2 separate regions of the Homo sapiens genome follow, and region 1 is linked to region 2. The links are contacts of gene promoters, found by promoter capture Hi-C in blood cells and fetal thymus (Javierre and others, 2016). All regions are on one chromosome and are shown on one strand. Each heading gives the region's core, a stretch centred on a gene start or on the middle of the fragment in contact. The rest is flanking DNA. Distances are from core to core; before and after follow the strand shown.

What was found. Contacts are between HindIII fragments. The CHiCAGO score rates a contact against its expected background, and 5 or more counts as called.
Region 1: a contact is called between a fragment that was not itself captured here and the fragment with the promoter of RASL11A in region 2, in 1 of 17 cell types (naive B cells). The highest score is 5.6, in naive B cells.

The regions. Positions count from the first base shown.
Region 1 is chr13:27,155,131-27,161,641 of GRCh38, reverse strand. The region is part of intron 1 of USP12 (ubiquitin specific peptidase 12); the gene reads left to right. All of the region lies in intron 1 of USP12-AS1 (USP12 antisense RNA 1), which reads right to left. Among named protein-coding and RNA genes, the nearest start is that of USP12, 13 kb to the left of the region's middle. The HindIII fragment of the contact is 2,215 bases long and covers 1,676-3,890 here.
Region 2 is chr13:27,267,825-27,274,526 of GRCh38, reverse strand. It overlaps RASL11A (RAS like family 11 member A), which reads right to left and starts at 3,697. Exons shown (of 4, transcript NM_206827.2): 1 at 3,459-3,697; 2 at 2,987-3,043; 3 at 2,809-2,888; 4 at 1-1,500. The coding sequence starts at 3,582. The coding sequence ends at 1,033. RefSeq lists silencers at 3,297-3,526, 3,567-3,786 and an enhancer at 3,735-4,235. The HindIII fragment of the contact is 11,897 bases long and covers 1-6,702 here.

The sequences.
Region 1 (6,511 bases), core at 1,534-4,033, 110 kb after region 2:
AAAATGCTGCAATTACACGTGTGAACCACTGCACCTGGCCTGTAGTTAACTTCTGATGGCAGTAAACACTGCAATTCCCTATTAGTAACATTTTTTTTTAAAGGTATAAAATTATAGTGAGTAAATTGCCTTTATTTCTACAGTATTGGTCTACCTGGGTTTTTCAGGGATCCCTGAAAAGAGACTTTCAAAATTAGAGCCCATCTGGGCACAAGTAAAATAAGTCATAAAGTACTTAAGTTGTAGGGGTAAGGAGACAATAAAATACAAGGCTTTTGTTCTTTGGAATGGAAAATGCATTTATAATTTGAGATTCTGTAGATGAACATTTATTCTGCTTTGTATGTGATTATCTTAGTCCAAAAATCTAGCCGTTATAACTTTGAAGAAATTATTTCTGCTGTTTCTCTGGCATATTGTTTCACAATTTTTCTTTGCTGATGTTGCAAAGGTTCCCTGTTTGTTTAATTTGCTTAATGAAGAGACTCATATGCAGGATGGTTAAGGTGGTACCTTGGGGGTAGTAGCTGGGACTTTGAAGTTTGCGTTAGGAGGTATATCTTAATAGAGCAGGGGGATTCTCTTTTCCACAAAACGGGATATAATGTTTAGAAGGTTTCAGACTTAACGGCCTTGAAAGATGACGCTTTGTGGAGGGGAACGCTACACACTGGGGCCTGTGGGGAGGATGGCGGGAGGGAGAGCATCAGGAAGAAGAGCTGATGGATGCTGGGCTTAACCCGGGGAGATGGGTTGAGCTGTGCAGCAAACCACCATGATACGTTTACCTGTGTCACAAACCTGCACATCCTGCACATGTACCCTGTAACTTAAGGTTGAAGGGGGAAAAAAAAAAAAAAGAAACATGATGCTTTGGTTCTTTTAAGAACAGGTGAGGAATAGGAATCAAGTGGTTTCACTGTTTGTTGTTTGATGGACCTAGAGGTTTAAAGCTGATAATTTCTTCAGACTGATGTGCTCAGGGTTTTTATGTAAAGGTGGACAAAATTTGGAACAAATTTGAAACATCAAAGGCTCAAAAACTAGATACAACGGACCAAAAACAAAACCAAAAATATTGTGCTTTTGGTTCTGCTAGGCAAATTAGAATCTTTTCATTGTCTGGTGTTGCATTTTTTTTTTTTTAAAGACAGTTCACTTTTTTAAAGTTTACTGGTTAGTTTCATTTGTTTTTATTGCATTTTTTTTTTCAATTTGAGGAGGCTTATATCTCCTCCACGGGGGACCCTGCTGAACAAGGACCTGCCATTGTCATGTGACTGGTTAAAGCAGAGGCCTTCACTTAACTTGGCAAATGAAAAACTAAAAGGAAGCAACTTTTACTTCTGGTTGTTTTCTCACTATACACATCAAGCCTTAGCCAGATAAAAATGCTTGGATATTTGTATCATTGTCTTAGTTGGAGACATTATGTTGCCCTTTTTAACTAAAAAGATACAAGTGAAATCTGTCACCTTTTTTTGTTCTCTGTTTAGTTTCTTTCTTTATTGAGTTTTTCCAGCTTTACTGAGGTATAATTGACACATGGTATGTATTTAAGGTGGTATTTTCGTTCTTTAAAGACTGCACAGTTGCCTTTGCTCAGGTTACTCCTCCTGCCAAGTGTTCGCAATTCCGCTCTTTCAGGTTTTTACTTCCTTGTGTCCTTAAAGCTTCTCTTCTGTTACACATTTTCATCCCAGATGTTAGTTGCTTTAATAGTCTACTTTCTTTCCTTTTCATCTCTGAAACTGGGTTGTAGTTATTATACCATTTCAGTGCTAATAGCCTACCGTGATGTTCTTGCCATTTTATGTTAATGATGACTTAGGTCATCTTCCCTGACTTGTAAAGTTGAATGTGACATCTGTAATTTTAGCTTTCCCAAGGAACTTATATAGGAGTCTGACATTTATTGAGTGGCTACTTGGTGATGCTATTGCTAGGCATTTCACAGATTCAGATCTCACAATGATAAAAAATAAAGGTGTAGGAAAGTTTGAGTTTAGATAAATGTATAGATGATAAATCTAGAACAGACTGTTAAAGAGAGTTAGGATATTTGGGTACATTTTTGGTTGACATCCAAGTTAACAAGGCCCTCTGCAAATGTTACTGGATATTGATAGAGAAGGCTGGATTGAATAGGTGTGGCCTAGTTGAGAAATGAAATTTAATGATAGAACACTTGTAAAACACCAGAATTATATGCCTGATGCAAATGGAATGGTGTTTGAAAAATCTTATTTTCTTCCTGACATTTTTAGGAACAGCCTGTGTTTAATATGGACTTTGAAATATAATGTCATGGTAACTTTTAGAAATGGGGTGGTAGATACGCCCTTGTAATTTAGTAATTGATACATTGTTTTTTGAACTACCAGAGTGAGGATTTTAAAAGAATTAAATTATTCAGGTTTAACTGTATATACTCTTAAAGAAAAATGTGATATCTGATTACCTTAGAAATGGTAGTTTCTTTTAATTTTGCAATTTTAGAAGTTTAAGAAAAACCAAACCACTTACTATTTTTAAAACTGCAAAATTGTGTGAGTTTAAAAAATTCATTTCTTACAAGGAAGAGGGGCCGCCCTTTCCCAAGAAGTAATTGCTAGAAAGAGTTGGGATATGTGTGTGTTTATTGCCAGACATTACCTGTGCATATACAAACATGAGGTATTGTGTGTGTGTCACCCCCACTCCCCCCAAAATTTAAAACTGCAGGTTTATTTGCTTTTTCACCTAACAGTGTATATTTTTGGTTGTCATCATGTTTCATTCCATGTCAAAACTCTTGTGTGCATTTTAATTTCCCATGATCTTCAATGTCTATCATATTGAAAGGTTTGGTTATATAATACTGTTTGCACATTTTCATTTTATTAAACAATAATTTTATTAGTTTCCTAGGGCTGCCATAACAAAGTGCCAGAAACTGTGTGTGGATTATAATACTGTATTGTTACTGTACCTTTTCTACGTTTAGATGTGTTTAGAGACATGAATACTTACCATTGTGTTACAGTTACCTACAGGATCCAGTACAGTCATATGCTGTACAGGTTTGTGGCCTAGGAGCAAGAGGCTAGACCACATAGCCTAAGTGTGTAGTGGGCTGTACCATCTAGGTTTGCGTGAGTACACTCTATGACATACGCACCATGATGAAATTGCTTAACAGTCAATTTCTCAGAATGTATCCCTGTCATTAAGTGGTGCATGCCTGTAACAGAAATTTATCGTCCTAACAATTCTGTAGGCTAGAAGTCCAGAATCAGGATGTCGACAGGGTTGGTTCCCTCTGAGGGCTATGAGGAGACTCTCTTCCATTTTCTACCCTAGCTACTGGTGGTTTTCTGGCAGTGGATGCATCATTCCAATCTTTTCACATGGCATTCTCCCTGTGTCTCTGTCTCCATTTTGTCTTCCTTCTATGCCTGTGTCCGAATTTTCCCTTTCTACACAGACACCAGTCACACTGGATTAGGGTCCACCCTAATGACTTCATTGTAACTTGATTACTTCTGTAAAGACCCTATTTCAAAATAAGGTCATATTCTGAGATATTGGGGCTTAAGACTTAAACGTACCTTTATTAGGGAACACAGTTCACCCAGTAAAACTAATGGCGCAATCAGGTCCATTGCAATTAATGTCAAGGAATATTCATTAAGTTGGGTTATGTGCTAGACCCTAGAGATTCAAAGCTGTTTAAGTTCCAAAGGGCTTGCAGTCTAGTTGGGGAGACCAGCTTTGTGTATAATAATGTAAACTGATACAAACTTGATAAGCTGTATTTTGATGTGTACAGGGAAGACAGACTGGTATTTGGAGTGAGGCCTGCATCAGTTGGAGAAGGAAGGCTTTTGGGAGTGGTGGGGAGGGAAGCTTGGTGGAATTTGAAAGGTAACTTGGAGAAAAATGAAGAGGACAAAGGTCCTGGCGAGGAAGTGAGAAGTGAATTAAAATAACAAGAGAGAAATAAGGTTAAGTGATTAAAATTACTTACATGATTTAATGTTTCAGTAATTTTGTCCTCAAACTTGTTAAATTGATTGGGTTCATATTGGTTTAGGGAAAAATCTTCTATAAACTTATATTTTTTTTAAAAAAAGGCATGTATATGTTGTTAAAAATCACATTTGTAGCTTACAGAACTCATTTTTGCTAAAAATGAGCTAATGAAAAGTACTTCTGATACAGCGGGTAAAGGAAAGTGGGAGAGATCATACCTAGAACATCCACTTTTTCCCAAAGTAATGACGGGGAATTATGTACACCTCTATATAATGACGGGATTATATACACCTCTTTGTGATCTTAGGTCCATTTCAACTACAGCATTCTGTTTTTTAGCTTAATGTATGTAAAACTTATCAAGCAAAAAGGGATCAGAAGTGGTTTTCTAGAAAATTTATTGAAAATAAAAAACCAACAAAACATGATTACCACATTAGTGAAAATAACTATTACGCAGAATATATTTTTGTAACATACCTGCTGTGAAGAAACTTCACCAATGTCAGTATTTACATTTCAGATTACTTTGTTATTATTAGTTCATTTTTTCCAAACAAAAACTGTGAAATCTATGAGATGGACCCATAGAGAGGAGTAGTCTGTTTTACAGGTAAGGAAATTAACAAATAGATTATTTCAGACTCCAGTGATTTGATTTTAGGATTCTGCCTGAGACCTCTCCGTATTTAGTCTAGTGCTTTTGCCGCCGGATCATGCTGTTACTAATGTAGGTGTAGATGCTTCTTCCCCCTAAAGACAACCATAAAATCATTTTTTCTCTCTCTCTCTTTTGTTTTTTTGAGACGGAATCTTGCTCTGTCGCCCAGGCTGGAGTGCAGTGGTGTGATTTCGGCTCACTGCAACCTCCACCTCCCAGGTTCAAGCAATTCTTCCTGCCTTAGCCTCCTGAGTACCTGGGATTACAGGTGCCTGCCACCATGCCCAGCTAATTTTTGTATTTTGTTTAGTAGAGATGGGGTTTCACCATGTTGGCCAGGCTGGTCTCAAACTTCTGACCTCAGGTGATCCGCCTGTCTTGGCTTCCCAAAGTGCTGGGATTACAGGCGTGAGCCACTGCCCCCCCAGCCTCTTTCTTTCTTAATACTCATAAATATCCAATCATTGTTGAAATTACCTGATTGTCTCAAATGATTATAGTTGGATCCATAATGATCATCGTTGCGTTTCGTCACTATATCTCTTAAATGTGGATCCCTGTTTCTTTTTTATTATAGTTTATCTTTTGAGGAAATCAGATTGTCACATAGCTTTTTTCATTTTCTGTACTTTGCTGATTGCATCCCCTTTGTGATGTTTAACATGTTCTTCCATCCTTTGTGTTTTCTGTAATCTGGTAGATTAAGAGGCCTGAACCAGATTCCTTGATTTTTTTTTTTTTTTTCCTTGCAGGAGTTGAGGTACAAGTGGTGGTGGAAAAACTTAGGTGATGTGTACTTCTGGTTTGCAGTGGAATGTCGTGTCTCTTTATAATGATGAGGCTGGCATTGTCAGAATGACTCTTCTGTTACGGAGCTGCTGGCAGCTTTTTACCTCATGGTTTTTAGCAACTGTTGATAATCATTGCCTAGATCCAGTGTTTCATTAGGGCTTCAGAATACAGTTTTAACTGCTTCTATAGGTTTTTTTTAAGAAATATTTTTAAAAACATTGAAAGAGAATGTACATCTATGTTATATTTGAAGCTACATAGAAATAAACTTTTTACATTTTCAGAATATTTTCATAGTTGTATTCCGAAAGTCATACATTTAGGCAGGCTAAAGTTTACAAATTAAGTTGAACCTTTTCCGCATCTAGACTTAATTTTGTGATATTACAAGTGAATGAGCACATGAAGTTCTAACAGATTTTTGCATCTGAACTATAATTAATAAGATTTAACTGATTATACACTAAAACTTGACAAAGTAGTTTTTCTTTTATTTTCCATTTTTTAATATGTTCCGCCTCAGGGTTATATATTTACTACTCCTGTGCTTTTACAAAAGCAACTTCAAATTCTTAGGCACAGGATTCTGAAAATTAGATGAACTAACCAGGTACAGTTACTTTAATTTTCAGATTTTAGGGATATTAGAGTGCATTTATTTGTATTTCTATTTGTAATATTTAAAATGGACCAATTTGTGTGTGCATTAGTTTCCAATGGGGCTGTAACATATTACCACAAGTTTAGTGGCTTAAAATCACACAAGTTTATTATTCTAAAGTTATGGAGGTCGCTGGGTGCAGTGGCTCACACCTGTGATCCCAGCACCTTGGGAGGCCAAGGCGGGCAGATCACGAGGTCAGGAGATCAAGACCATCTTGGCCAACATGGTGAAACCCTGTCTCTACTAAAAATACAAAAAATTAGCCGGGCATGGTGGCACGCGCCTGTAGTCCCAGCTACTTGGGAGGCTGAGGCAGGAGAATTGCTTGAACCTTGGAGGCGGAGGTTGCAATGAGCCGAGATCGCGCCACTGCACTC
Region 2 (6,702 bases), core at 2,448-4,947:
GAGAAAGACAATCTGTTGGAATGGACTGACTGCTGGTGTGTGTTTTGGAAGGAGGGGTTGATAAGCCTGGAGAGGTGGTAAAGAATCTTGATGCCATGTCTCATGTCTATCTTAACCAGTAGCTAAGGGGAAACCAGCTGGGTTTTTTATAGAAATAAAATGATTAGGGTTAGTTTTAGTAGCATTGTTCTGATGTGAAGAGACAATTAGGAGATGTCATTCTAGAAGGCAAGAAACATGAGTCTTGCCTAGATTCTTGCCTGCCAGTCAAAGGGAGGTCTAGATTAAGGGACAGTGAGGCTTTAGAGAAAAACAGGAGTGAGGATGGACATATCTGGTGCCCTATTGGAAGGGAAGGAGAATTTTGAGGCAACTTTTGGGTGGTAGGGTCCACTTACTGACATAAGGAATACTAGAAAAGGGGTTGTTTTTTAATATGGGTAGAGTATAAACTTGCATTTGCACCAATAAATGTTACTCATGGCTTGTAACGTTTTAGCATTGTACCCCTTCCCTTGAAAATCACACAGTGTCAATTTCATGACTGGTGGCAGTGTCCCATTTAAAGACCTCCTGCCGTTATTAAAATCCCTCTCCTCCTCCACATACTTTCCTTTCTCCCACAACAGACTCCCTCTACATGAACTCCTCCCCACTGCGAGACACCAATCAGAGTTCAGACTGAGGGCAAGCATGGAGCAGCACTGGGCGCTGGTGCAAGTACAATTTCTATAAAAAGACATTGAGAAAACAATGAGCAATGTTGCCATTTTGCCTTTAATGGAAAAGTGGCCAGCAGTTACAGTAAAAAAAAAAAAAAAAAAAAAAAAAAAAAAGTTCTTTTAATAAAACAAAACAAAATTTTATCCAGCTTCTAGGCAATCACTGTTTGAATTTTCAGAAATACACATGTACTTGAAAATCAATTTTTTTATAAAAATAAACTCTGAATGTGTGATTAAAAAGCGAGAAGCCCAGTCTTTTAGCTGCACAAATGCGTATTAAAAAGGAGAGGCATCTGTCTGAGATAGTTCACCCCAGTGCAGAGGGGGCTTTGACTTTGGGAGACAGAGCCTGCTTGAAGCGTCTCTTCAGGTCCTGCATGTTGGGAGAGCGGGGCCGAGGGATGATGGAGGCTCTTCTTCTTTCCCCACTGAGGCCGTGCATCTTGCTCACTTCTTTGCAGAGATGCTGAAACACATCACAGACATCTTCGTAGTTTTCGCTAGTGGAAATTTCAAGGAACAGGCTGCCCAGCTCATTGGCTAGCTGAATACCGTCCTGTGTCTGCACCTGCCGGGCATGCAAAAGGTCCCCCTTGTTGCCCACGATGATGACAGGGGCTTTAGAGTCAGGGTGGACCTTCCGGATGTGCTGATAAAGGGGTCGGATGGACAAGTAGCTGTCATAGTCTGTGATGGAATAGACCAGCAGAAAACCCTCGGCCCACTGCACGCATTTGGACAGGGAATCGACGACCTGGGGGAGGCTGTCTTGGATCTGAGAAAACATCAAAATGAGATCCAGTCAAGGAAACCCTCAGTGGGAGATAAACTCAAAACAACATCAAGGCAACCCTTGAAGAAACACTTGAAAAAGAAATCTCTAAATACAGTTTTCAGTTTCCACCCAGCTTCTGCAGAAGCAGGCTTTTGATATGGAAAGAACAGATTCCCAGGCAAACTCCCTGCCTGAGTTACTTTATTAGCTGTTATCCCTGCATTATTTTTAAACCCCTTGCTTGTCAGGCAGTCTCTGGTGAACCATGGCTGACTGAAGAATGACCTCAAACCAGAATGGCTCAAGTTTTAGGAAACACTAACTCATAATAAACAAAACTTTGAAAATAAGCCAAGATAAATATCTATTCCCAAACTCATAAAAACATTTTTAACATGCACTTCTTAAGAATGTTACAGAAAGAAATTCCTTTCTTAGGGTTCTTCCACAAGACCTTTCCTCTGGAGAACGGAGTAGCAATTAGTAACTGGTTAATAAACAAGTTACATTCTAGACCCTCTGCCAAGGGGTTATCTGATTGCAATTACTGACTTGAGGGAACAGCCATTAACAGCAGCAGTTCAGCAGTGCTTGGGCCGGGCGCTGTGGCTCATGCCTATAATCCCACCACTTTGGGAGGCCGAGGTGGGCGGATCACTTGAGGTCAGGAGTTCGAGACCAGCCTGGCCAACATAGTGAAACCCCATCTCTACTAATAAATAAATAAATAGATAAATAGCTGGGAGTTCCGGCGGGTGCCTGTAGTCCCAGCTACTCGGGAGACTGAAGCAGGAGAATCGAGGAGAATCGCTGGAACCTAGGAGGCGGAAGTTGCAGTGAGCTGAGATCCAGCCACTGCACTCCAGCCTGGGCAAGAGTGAAACTCCGTCTCAAAAAAAGCAGAGCTTGCCAGGGGAGAAGAGTCTCTCCCATCAGAATCCTACCTCTTTTTTTGTTTTGTTTTGTTTTGTTTTAAACGTTTTTTTCTTTGTTAATGGTTCCATGGCTACCTCCGGAAGAAATGGTGAGACCTGCTTAAGTAGTGATGGCCCACCAGGGTTGCAAAGTGAAGTTAAGTCAGGTGCTTAACAAGAGGAGGCTGCTTCTAACCATGCCTCCCCCTTAGAGAGTTTCTAACACCCCAACCACTGGCCCCACCTGTGGACAGCCCATTCCTCCCTCTAAACGCACAGGTCGGTTTAGATGCCTTGCTCAGACCCCTGCGCCCAGCATGGGCGCCCTACGTGCTGTGCCCACTGGGGTGGTCTCACGGGTGGGGGTGAGCTGTTTGCCCCTGGCGGTTCTTACCTGGACGCCCCCGGGAGTATCCTGGATCTGCAGGGAGAGCTGGTCCCCCTCGACATAGACCAGCCGTGAATACAGCTTGCCTGGAGAATGAAGTAGAGTTTGCTTTTTAATTCTCAAACTCCCATCCGTAAAAAGAAACACGCAAGCATAAAAGCAGGGAGCGTGAAAGTATTCTCACCTGTATTCGGTTCATAGTCTCCAATGAATCTCTTGGTCAGGAAGCGCACGATCATTGCTGAAAAGGAAATAGGAAAATCAACCGAAGGAGTAGAACAAGCCTGTCAAACCCAGGCACCTCGGACAAACTGGGGGGAGTGAAGGGTGCAGAACCGTGGGCACTGCTCGCTTCCAGAGGCTCCGCAAAGCCGTGGTGCCGCGGGCTTGGCCGCGAGTACGACTGGCGGGACACCTCTCCCGCACCCCATCCCCGAACAGGCGCCAATCCCGCCGAGATCCCAGGAGTAGATGCACCAGGAAACGCCAGGGAAGCAGGCCGGGACGGACCGGGACCCACCCAGCGCGAAAGCAGCCCGATTCTACCTGCACCCGCGCCCTCTGCTTCGGCCGAGGCGCCCTCTCTCCGCAGCGCCCCCAGTGGTCGCGGCCGGAGCCGGGGAGCGAAGCCGCCCGGGGGTCCCCGCCGCACTCACCGCTCTTGCCCACGCGGCCGGCGCCCAGCACCGCCAGTTTGATGTCCTTGGGCAGTAGGTAGTCCGAGGAGGACTCGGGGATGGGTGCGAGCAGAAAGTGCCCGGACATGCTGAGCGGCCGCATGGAGCGCGTCCCGGGGTCCGGCGCGCAATCCGAGAGGGCTGGGCCTCGCCGCACCCGGAGCCGGCTCGCCAGCTGGGAGTGCGGGACTAGAGGTCCGGGACCGCGGCGGCTGCCTGCAGAACTGTCAAGGCCCGCGGCTTTTAAAGGGCTTGGTGCGCCCGGGAGCGCGGCGGCCGTCCCAGCTCCTCCTCGTCTCCGCCCCTTCCCGGAGCGGCCGGGAGGGGCGGGAGCAGAGGCCGCGGAGCTGACTATCGCCGAGGCTGTGCGCTTCGCCGGGCTGCTAGCTGCTCGCGGCTCCAGGCGCTCTGCGGCAGGACTGCGGCTCCGGGGCTCAGACCCTGGAGATACGGCCACCGTCCAGAGCGCGCGAGTGGCCTCTAGTCAGGCATTCTGCGAGTCTCCTCGCCCCGCAGCAGCCAGCCGGAGTCACTAGACCTGTGGGTGAACTTGAGATAGGAGTTACGAGTTGACGAGAGAAGAAGAAAAAGTGCAATCAGTTGGATGTTTCTGCAACAATGGGACAGATTGCTGTAAAACGCTGCCCTTTTTATTTTTAAAAGGTGCTAAGGGGCTGGGCGCGGTGGCTTACGCCTGTAATCCCAGCACTTTGGGAGGCCCAGGTGGGCAAGATCATCTGCGGTCAGGAGTTCAAGACCAGCCTGGCCAACATGGCGAAACGCTGTCTCTACTAAAAATACAAAAATTAGCGGGGCGTGGTGGTGGGCGCCTGTAATCCCAACTACTCGGGAGGCTGAGGCAGCAGAATCGCTTGAACTAGGGAGGCGGAGGTTGCAGTGAGCCGAGATGGCACCACTGCACTCCAGCCTGGACCACAAGAGCGAAACTCCGTCTCAAAAAAAAAAAAAAAAGAAAGAAAAGAAAAGATGCTAAGGGGTAACATTAATATGGGAAAAGGGCGGGGGGCGGGGGGCAAGAGCTCTGAATTAGTATCAGTGGAGGCAACTGCAGTCACTGTGACCTTGCTAGGGATAGATGAAGTCCCCTTAGGGGCAGTGATGGTTAGCATCTCAGTATCCATGCCCAGCCCCTCCTCTGCAGGCAGGGGTTGCACTGGCTCATTCCTGAACACTCATGAGCACTCCACTGGCTGGGGGCCCTGGCCCTGCACTAAGTGTCCATCATTAATACTATCCTATGTGCTTGAGTCATGCATTTGCTTCAGTATCCAAATATTTACTTCTAGGTGCATGGTGGGGTCTAGGGTGGGGTGGGGGGCAGTGTGAGGAACAGGACACAGAGCTATAGACTGGTTCTTGGATTTCTGGAGCCCACCAGAAATAGCACAGCAGAAGCCTCAGGACTTTAACCTTGAACAGTTAGAAGACCTTCATGCCTCTGACCTCCTGTGTTCCAGCCTCACTTGCCTAATCGCCTATTAGACAGCCCCACCCTAATTCATACCTTTCTCTACCCTGGTTGTACCAGTTTTTGCTGCATGACAAGCCACACCAAACTAGATGGCTTAGAACAACAATCACTTACAGTTGTTGAGCCCTTTGATGCATCTGCAGGGAGCTTCCAGGTTCTGGAAGTGGGGGCTGGCTGCCCTTGGATAGCCTTACTCATGTCTGGCAGCTGTTGGCTGTGATGAGGGAGGGTAGTGACTGAGTTACATGTCTCTTCTCATTCAGCACGTTGGCCAGGGCCTGCCTTCATGGTAGCTGAGCAGAGTTCCAAGAGAGTGGGTGGAAATGGATAAGGCCTCTTGAGACCTAGGCCTTGAGAAGGAACCCATCCCTTCTGCTGCATTCTGTTGGCCAAAGCAAGTCATGGGGCCAGCCCATATTCAAGGAGTAGGGAAATACACTCCGCCCCTTTGTGGAAACAGCAGAAAAGTCACGTGTGAAAGGGCAAGGAAGCAGAGAGTGATGGAGAATGGGGTCCATTTTTGTAATTGACCATGCTAATGAATGTGTCTCCATCCACCCAGTGGCCCAAGCCTGGGAGACATCCTTGACTCTACCCACTCTCTCACTTCCACATTGATTAATCGCCAAGTTCCATCATTTCTCCTCCTATATTTCTTGGTGTCTCCCTCTGTATCCCTACTGCTCTCATTTCTTTTTTTTTTTTTTTTTTTGAGACGGAGTCTCGCTCTGTCGCCCAGGCTGGAGTGCAGTGGCGCAATCTCGGCTCACTGCAAGCTCCGCCTCCCGGGTTCACGCCATTCTCCTGCCTCAGCCTCCCAAGTAGCTGGGACTACAGGCGCCCGCCACTACGCCCGGCTAATTTTTTGTATTTTTAGTAGAGACGGGGTTTCACCGTTTTAGCCGGGATGGTCTCGATCTCCTGACCTCGTGATCCGCCCGCCTCGGCCTCCCAAAGTGCTGGGATTACAGGCGTGAGCCACCGCGCCCGGCCTCATTTCTTATCTGCAGAATTCTGAATAATCCTGAAGTAAACTAATCTAGACTAGATGGTGACTTCAGTTTACATGTTCCTCCCTTGGAGAAGCCGTCTCTGATCACTGCCACTGTCCCCACCCCTATCTTGCAGTTACTCACTCTCAGGGCACTGATCTCAACTATCATTACTTTCTGGTGGAATATTTGTTTCATGTCTGTCTCCAGGAGGACAGGGACTCTAGCTTGTGACTCTAGTACCCAGCACATAGTGGCACCTGGGACTGGCAAGGTCCTTAATAAATGTTTGTTCACTGGCTGACTTTCCAAATGAATGAATGAATGCTGTCTTCAGTGTATGAACTGGAAAATACAGAAGTCATGTTTCTGACCATTTTCCCATTGCCTTGGTTTTGAGAGCAGCTTGCTCTCAGGAAGACGTGTGCTGGGAGATGTCCTGAGATAAACTGCCATATTTAAGTTGTACTGACTTTTGACTGTTCATAAGGCAATTTTCTCTGTTAAACTGCAGTTTAATTGAAAAGACTTGAAGCAAGGCACCTTCCTCCCTGATGGGGGAAAAGGCACCATAAAGACAATGACTGTCTAGGGAACAACTGGAAGCTGTTAAGTTCCAGGGTCACGTGCAGCTCCGTGATGGGGGTCTGGGCTGTTGTCTCTGATTCCTTTTGACTTCTCCTTTATGGATGCAGGGTGGCTCCTGCAGCATCAAGTCCTTACCCAAACAGGAAGGGAA